2 separate regions of the Homo sapiens genome follow, and region 1 is linked to region 2. Evidence: promoter capture Hi-C in 16 types of primary human blood cells and fetal thymus (Javierre and others, 2016). All regions are on one chromosome and are shown on one strand. The core of a region is centred on a gene start or on the middle of the fragment in contact, and the rest is flanking DNA. Distances in the headings are between cores, read along the strand shown.

Evidence for each region. The method cuts DNA at HindIII sites, captures the fragments that hold promoters and counts their contacts. A CHiCAGO score of 5 or more calls a contact.
Region 1: a fragment that was not itself captured here is called in contact with the fragment with the promoter of NELFCD in region 2 in 1 of 17 cell types (total CD8 T cells); the score reaches 5.3 in total CD8 T cells.

The regions. Positions count from the first base shown.
Region 1 is chr20:59,246,057-59,250,172 of GRCh38, forward strand. The region is part of intron 4 of ZNF831 (zinc finger protein 831); the gene reads left to right. Among named protein-coding and RNA genes, the nearest start is that of EDN3, 52 kb to the right of the region's middle. The HindIII fragment of the contact is 322 bases long and covers 2,509-2,830 here.
Region 2 is chr20:58,979,033-58,983,139 of GRCh38, forward strand. It overlaps NELFCD (negative elongation factor complex member C/D), which reads left to right and starts at 2,224. Exons shown (of 15, transcript NM_198976.4): 1 at 2,224-2,337. The coding sequence starts at 2,278. RefSeq lists a silencer at 2,080-2,559 and an enhancer at 2,482-2,982. The HindIII fragment of the contact is 8,660 bases long and covers 1-4,107 here.

The DNA.
Region 1 (4,116 bases), core at 1,420-3,919, 270 kb after region 2:
TTTGTTCATCACGGGCCTGGGCCAGCTCACCTCTCCCTCCGCAGTCTGTCTCCTTGCGCTCACATAATCCTCCTCTGAAGGGATTTCTGAGGTATTTGGAGCCAGCAAGAGGCCAGGGATGGGTCTGGGGGTCTCTCCAGAGCCCTCTTCTCTCTCTGTGCCTTCACTCTCCTTCTCTGACAGGACTTCCGACATCTTTTCTCATTAGAATTAATGGAGAACTATCCCCAAAGCTATGAAGTCATAGTGCTCTGAAATTGCTGAAACAGAATAATTTCTCCTTCATTCTAGGGTGTAAATCTTGAGGAAAGATGAGAAGCTGTTTCAGGTATATCGATAATGTCCCAGGGAAGAGACCCACATAGACAATTTTCATTTAGCAACAAGAAACTTTTAAAAGAATGTTACACAAAGTATATCAGCCAGTTTCTGTTTTGGCTTTCAATCTTTCAAATGGCATTTTCTTTTTTATTGTCTTTTTTCCTTCTCTAATTTCATAATCCTATTTTCACTCTGTATTTTAAGGGCACACACTTGATGTCTGGACATGACAGAATTTTTAAAGCAAAATTTTAAACACCGCTTTGCACTGAATTCAGGATTTCTGTGAGGGGAGGGTGGTTATCTTGATTGCCTTTCATCAGAGAAATAGAAAAGAGATGAAAATTACTAAGAAAAATGGTTGTTGAAGTAAAAGATTAGTTTATGATTACTTAGAGGCAAACTTTCAAAAGATTGCATTAGGATAGTGCAGAAATACCCGAGGCTGTACTTGATAAATCCATCTTTCTGGTCCTCTCCCCCAACCCTCCCTGCCTGTGCAGCTGAAGTCGGAGCTGCTTCTCACTGCTCACCGCCCACTGACTTCTGATTATTTTTTGATTGGCATTGACATCCAACGTCTCCCATTCTCTCTGCCTGAGAGGAATAAAACCTCTTTCTTCCATCATTTTTAGCCATTTTTTTCGTAAAGAGGCTTCATAAACAAAAAATGTAATAGGATTGCAGAAACAAATGAATTTACTGTCAAAGAAACTTTAGCATAACGTCAGGTATGCAACAGAGACTTAAAGAAAATTGGTTGAATAATTACATGTATAGATGATTCAGACTTAGAAAGCCATCCAGGACAGGGGTGATGTCAGATGATTTACTGTGTGCATAGTTTTGCTCTTTTCCATAGATACAGGTTGGGTTGGGGTCCTATTTCATGGCCACCCAGCACCTTCGTGCTTTTTCTTTCATGCTATTTACTATATTTGCTTGGTGAATTTTTTATATAATTATTTGCTTACTGAATTTCTCCCCCGTTGAACTATAATTATCATGTGGGTGTGTCTGCCTCGTTTTCCACAGAACAAATGCCCTGTGTTTAGCACAGTTCTTGGCACGGTTGTTGGTTGTGCTTGGTGCTCAGTAAATATTTAGGCTCAATAACATAGGCTCGAAAACAGGCTTAAAAATATTTGAATAAATAACTGTCCACAAAGTTATTACTTTTAGAGATCTGCCCAGCTTTCTATAAGTAATTGCTAGCACATTGTGGATCTGTTAATTCCCGGGATGCTTCTAAACAATTTAATCACAGATTAATTAATAGTCTAGGAAATTACTCCTATATTCTTGTTTATATTTGCAGCTTGCTTAGAAGGTTGATTTTATAGACTCATTTTTAACCCTTTTTTTAAATAATAATTCAGTCTTTGGAATCCACATTCATGGAGTTTTGGTGTATTGGGACAAACCAAAAGAAATATATCAAATTACTTACATTTTTAGTTAATGATATTTGAGCAGTGCGTTTATAGCATTTTAATAAGGCCTAGACATTAGGCAGCTGGAAGAAGATTTGGCATTAAAGATGTCTACAGTTATGTTGTAAGTTTCATCATGTTGTTTATTTATTTCATTTTCTTTCTAAGTATTTTACAGTTTCCTGTAGCCTTTTCAAGATGGCCACATTTAAAATTGCTGTAACACTTTAAGTGGCCTCTTCCTCTAAATGCAGTCTGGCAATTATTTCTGAGGGAAGTTATTAAAAACACAGCCTTTAATCAGGGAAAGAACAGCACGGCACAGAGAGCTGTGATGAGAGATGGTCTCTCTAATAAGAGTCCCATAATTGTGTAAGAGCGATCGAATTTCTGAAGATGGCATTAAGACAGTGGAGTTTGTAATTTCTGAGGATGTAGGAAGTGATTCATACAGTGTGATGCTGAAGCCTCAATGGAATCACATTCTGTGATTTAAAATTTGGCCAGGGAACTACTTCCTTTTTGAAAAGGGCCATTCATTTAAAAGCAAGTTAGTGTCCTTCCTCAATAATCCAAATCAGTTTAACACACTTCAGTGACATTATTTGAGCATTTTTCACAATTATTAAAGATAATTCACTTTTCTCTGTAGACTGCAGGGTCAAAAACAAATTAGATCAGTGGATTTTCTTCCTTTACTTTCATAGATGAGTCAGAAGTTATTGGTCAAATGTGCACATGACCTTTCTACTTAAGCTTAAAAACCAAAACAACCTGTTGGGAAGACATTTGGCCAATCTGATTATTTTCTCTACACTAATTGGTTTTACTTCTTCATTGAATTGAATGAATTGCATGGTTGTTTTGTCACTGTGGGGACAGAGCTTAATTCACTTAGAGTGAGCACTTGTGCTTGGTGAACGATGAGGCTAAGGAAATGCATATCATCACCATTAATTTTTGATAATTTTTCATGGGTGAGAATGAAAACATATCTTGAATCCACCCCTTTTTTCCCTTTCTATTTCTGGTGCCCTAGTCAAGCCATCTCATCTGGCCCCTGGATTATCCTAGTAAGCTTGTAACTGTTTTTCCCACCTCTCCTCACCTCTCTCCCGAGTTTGGCTTCAAAATTTAAACTTCTTACCACAGTCACTTGTACCCCACAAGATCTGAGTCCTTGTTGACTTCCCCACCATCATCTTGCCCCTGCCCCTGCATTCACGACTGTCCTTCCACATTGGCCCCCCATGGGTCTCTTGCTCCCGCAAGCTGCTTTCCCCTTTAAGGTCTCTGTATTGTTCCTTCTTTTGTCTAGAATATCCTTTGTGGACTTGTTCTTTCTCACTCTGAAGGTCTCATTTCTGATGTCGCCTTTCTGAGAAGTCTTCCTTGACTATATAAAACAGTCCTCCCTGGCTACTCTTTGGATTAAGCCCCCTCATTACTCTCTTTACTACCCCCTGCTTATCATGAGTCTGTAGTATGCTCCCCTCCATTTCTCATTAGTGTCTGGAATAGCCTCCTGTTAATTGTTACTGCCTGTAATACTCTCATTTTCACTCTCGGTAATATCCCCGTCCTCGATTTATTTCCTTTGCGACCCCATCACAATAGGCGTCTGCTTCCTTGTCTTTGCTTCTCTTTCCCCATTACAGTAGAAGCTCTTGAGGGCCAGCGTCACCTTTGTTTTGTTCTTCTCAGACTCTTCAAGGTGGAGCATGGTGCCTGGGTCATTGAAGGGGCCCAGGATGTGGTTGTTGAACAGGTGAATGGAGTACCAAAAGCCTGGTTCTGTGCCATTAGATTACCTGAGTACACGGGAGGGTCAAGAAAGATTGTGTGGAAGAAAAAAGCATTGCTATCTTTCCCAAACTGTGCACTTCTCTACGGATTTTCAAAGTTGATTTGCTCAGGATTAGCACACTTGGTAATCTAGTAACTTACCCCTTGAGATATAAGAAGTGGAACTGTTCTTTTGGTTTAAGATGGAGGATGGAACACATTTATTTACCTCAGCTTTTCTCTAACAACCAACAAGAGGTTAGTAATTAAAGGTGTTTTTAATATATAAGCTCACAAGGAGAAACGACTTGGAGAAGAAATGATGCCACCAGTTTGAAAACTGGAGTGCAGAGTCTGAATGGGAACTGATGTAGCTGACCCCAAGGAATGGAATCCTGATTTAACAGTGAGAAGACTCCCCACAACTCAGACATTCATGGTACCAGGTGTGGCTGAAAACAAGATTGATTGAAAGACTAAGAAGCAATCAGACTTCATTCCCACTCCGTTTCTACTTCTCAGAGCTTGGTAACTTCCCTCACCCTTGGAGAAGACTAGGGGCTTAGTCTCTGGACAG
Region 2 (4,107 bases), core at 974-3,473:
CAGTTCTGCTCTCTGGAAATGCTCTTGCCTGGGTCTTAGCTAGCTTGCCCCTTTCATGACATGACTCAGTTCAAATGTAAGCTGCTCAGCAGCCATCTCTGATCTCCCCAAGAAGATTCTATTATCACAGAATACTAGCACTGATCACCTTCTGTCTTTATCTTATTTGTTCCCCCCACCCCCTCCCCCCATTCAGCTCCTTCAGTAGAATGTAGGCTCTACCCGGACAAGGATCAGGTCCAACTTGTTCACCGAGCTCCAGGGAGCAGCGCAGTGCTGGGCACTTAGGGAACACTCAATAAACATTTGTTGAATAAATGAAGACATATTCCCTGATAAGTTCTCCAAAAGTAGTCACTATTATCAATCTTCTGGAGCTCTTTTCTCTAATACTCTTTCCTTACTGACATGGGCATTACCTTTCTTTTTTTTCTTTATAGACAGGGTCTCACTTTGTCACACAGGCTGAAATGCAATGGCACGACCATAGCAAACTGTAACCTCAAACTCCTGGGCTGAAGCAATCCTCCTGCCTCAGCCTCCCGAGCAGCTAGGACTACAGGCGTGCATCACCATACCTGGCTGGGGGCGGGGGAAGGGGGGGGGCGGTGTCTCGCTATGTTGCCCAGGTTGGTCTCAAACTCTTGCCTCAAGCAATCCTCCCACCTTGGCCTCCCAAAGTGCTGGGATTACAGGTGTGAGCCGCGGCGCTCAGCCACGGGCGTTACCTTTCAAAGCATCCAGATTTTATGGCGTTAATCTCCCTGTTTAAAATTTTCTGTGATTTGGACACAAAGATGGGAACAACAGACATGGGGTATTCCAAAAGGCAGAAGGTGTGGAGGGGGGTAAAGGCTGAAAAAGTTGCCGAAAGGATTAGAAGCATCACGCAATATACCAATGTAACAAACCTGCACACGCACCGAATCTAAAATTAAAACAAAACAAAAACACAACAACCAAACAAAAACCTTTCCGTGATCATCAGGAGGCTGTCATATTCTCACCCCCTACTTCACGCTGGGAATCGAGCTGCGGGCTTTACAACAGCGTCAGCTGCTCCCTTTGGCAACGACCAGAGAGGTCCTTTCTCCAGAGATTTTTGTCAGCTCTGGGCACTTTTGCTTTGTGGGCCTATCTTCCACTTTATAAAAAATTAAAAATGCTACTTTCCACTGCATTCAGTACTTTTTCTTCTCTTTTCTTTTTTCTTTTCTTTTCTTTCTTTCTTCTTTCTTTCTTTTTCTTTTTCTTTTTTTTTTTTTTTTTGACACAGTTTCACTCTGTTGCCTAGGCTGGAGTGCGGTGGTGTGATCTTGGCTCACTGCAACCTCCACCTCCTGGGTTCAAGCGGTTCTCGTGACTCAGCCTCTTGAGTAGCTGAGACTACAGGCGCCCGCCACCATGCCCAGCTAATTTTTGTGTTATTAGTAGAGAAGGGGTTTTACCATGTTGACCAGGCTGGTCTCGAACTCCTGACCTCAGGTGATCCGCCCGCCTCGGCCTCCCAAAGTGTTGGGATTACAGGCGTGAGCCACCGTGCCCTGCCCTTTTTATGTATGTATTTATTTATTTGAGATAGGGTCTCGCTCTGTCGCTCAGGCTGGAGTGCAATGGTGCGATCTTGGCTCACTGCAACCTCCGCCTCCCGGGTTCAAGCGATTCTCCTGCCTCAGTCACCCGAGTACCTGGGATTACAGGCGCATGCCACCACGCCCGGCTAATTTTTGTATTTTGAGCAGAGACGGGGTTTCACCATGTTGGCCAGACTGGCCTCGAACTCCTGACCTCAAGTGATCCGTCAGCCTCGGTCTCCCAAAGTGCTGGGATTACAGGCGTGAGCCCCCACGCCCGGTCGCGTTTAGTACTTTTTACCAAAACTAAAAGAAATTAAAACACTTTCGTGGGTCCTGGACACTTCCGGAAGGATTTGTTTCCAGCTGCCAGATGAGGAAACTGGGGCTCGCAGAGCCGGCGCCGCAGGGGAGGGGCTGTGCACGAATCCAGTGGGAAACCTCTCTCCGGAGCTAAGCCCCTGGTCCACCCGGGCATCGCTCCGGGATCGACTGGGGGCGTTCCTTCCGCCGGTCCCCTTTGTTCCCAGTGCCGAGCCCGCGGCCCTGCCCTTCCTCCAGGCCCCGCCCCTTCTTCCAGGCCCCGCCTCCCGCCCGGGCCGAGGCGCGCGGCCGCGCGTGCGCCCGCCCGCCCGTCCCCGCCTCGCGCATGCGCCGCGCTCGCTCGCGGGAGGGCATGGCGGGGGCCGTGCCGGGCGCCATCATGGACGAGGACTACTACGGGAGCGCGGCCGAGTGGGGCGACGAGGCTGACGGCGGCCAGGTGAGGCGGGGCACTGGGCGCACCCTAGAGAGAATCGTTCGTCTCCGCCGCCGGCGGGCCGGCCCCACTCCCGGAGAGGCCGCGCGGCGCGAGGCTGCGGGCGTGCGGGGGGTGTGCGCGCGCACGGCCCGCGCGGTCACCGTGTGGTTCAAGCACAGCCCGCCCCGCCCCCGCCCGCCCGGGGTCCCGCGGCGCGGCCGCCGGGGTCCCCGCCTCCTCGCCTGCAGGACCTTGGGGTGGGGGTGAGGCGCCGGAGGCTCTGGCGCGGGGCGGCCCGAGGCCCCCAGTACCCCCTCGCTCCGGCCAGGCCCGGCGCCGGCCCTGCGACCCCCGCGGCGGGCGGGACACCAACGCTAAGGTGGAGGGTTGGGTCCGGAGCTCACAGACTTTTAAACAAAAATAAAGTGGAAAAACTTCACAGCAGCATCATGAGGAAAAAGTAGAACTTAGGGCATTCCTACATGTGCTTTACTGTTTTATAAACTGTACTCTTCAGCACCTTGGGCTGATTTCATCTGTTTTTGGGCAAACTGATGGAAAGGATTTTCGGGCCTTGACCTTCCAGGGTTTGGGGTGGAAGCCCAGGAGGGATCACTGTTCCACCCTGAGGACAGGGACTGCAGAGCCAGGGCAGGTAGCTCTAGTCTGGACAGTGTGTCCCCACCTTACTCTAAAGACCCAACTGAGGCGCATGATTGAAATGTAGCTTCTCACGTCCCTCCCCTGGAGACGGCCCAACAGTTGGTCTGGACGGGAGCCTGGGAACTTGCATTTTTTTTTTTTTTTTTTTTTTTTTTTTTTTTTGTGGTGGAGTTTCGCTCTTGTTGCCCAGGCTGGAGTGTAATGGCGCCATCGCGGCTCACTGCAACGTCTGCCTCTCGGATTCAAGCGATTCTCCTGCCTCAGCCTCCCGAATAGCTGGGATTACAGGCACCCACCACCATGCCCAGCTAATTTTTAAAATTTTGAGTAGAGAGGGGGTTTCACCTTGTTGGCCAGGCTGGTCTCAAACTCTTGACCTCAGGTGATCCACCCACCTCTGCCTCCCAAAGTACTGGGATTACAGGCGTGAGCCACTGCTCGTGGCCCAGGAACTTGCATTTTTAACAACAATCAAGATTGGGGATGTCTGGTGCATTTTGAAGTGGTATTATAAGGGAATAAAGGATGAAGTGGGGCTTACGTTGATAAACATGGGTGGTGGTGTGATGGCGGCTTCGGAGCCATGGTCTAAAATGCCAAGGCGGGCGATGTGTTTCTGGAACTGAAAGAAGCCCTGTGATGTTAGCTGCCTGGTGGAAGCAGTGGCAGGAGGTCAGTAGGGAGCAGGTTCTGAAGATCCTTGGAGAGCTGCTGAATGGTATGGCTTGTTCAGGAGTTTGGGGCAGGGAGTGACACGAGTAGATTTGCATGTTGGATCATTTCACAGTGTTGGAGGCTTAGGGTGGAGTGGATAGAGTCAGACTTAGCTAACTGAGAGCTTGGGCCATGTGTGTCATGCGTTATCCCCTTCCACACACAGGATTTTGAGTTGGGTGTTACCCTACTTATCTGGTAAGTGTAGAAAATGAGACGAAAAGACTTACTGACCTGCCCAAGGTCATGAAACTAATAAAGGAAGGAGAGGGGACCCAAACCCACATCCTTTGCCTCCGTTGCCACTTCGTCAAATTGCTGACTACCAAAGTGGTCCAGATGAGAAGGTGTGAATTAGCTTAGTGGTAGGTTGGTGTTTGGGGCATCTAGTATATCACCTTGAGCCTTTTTTTC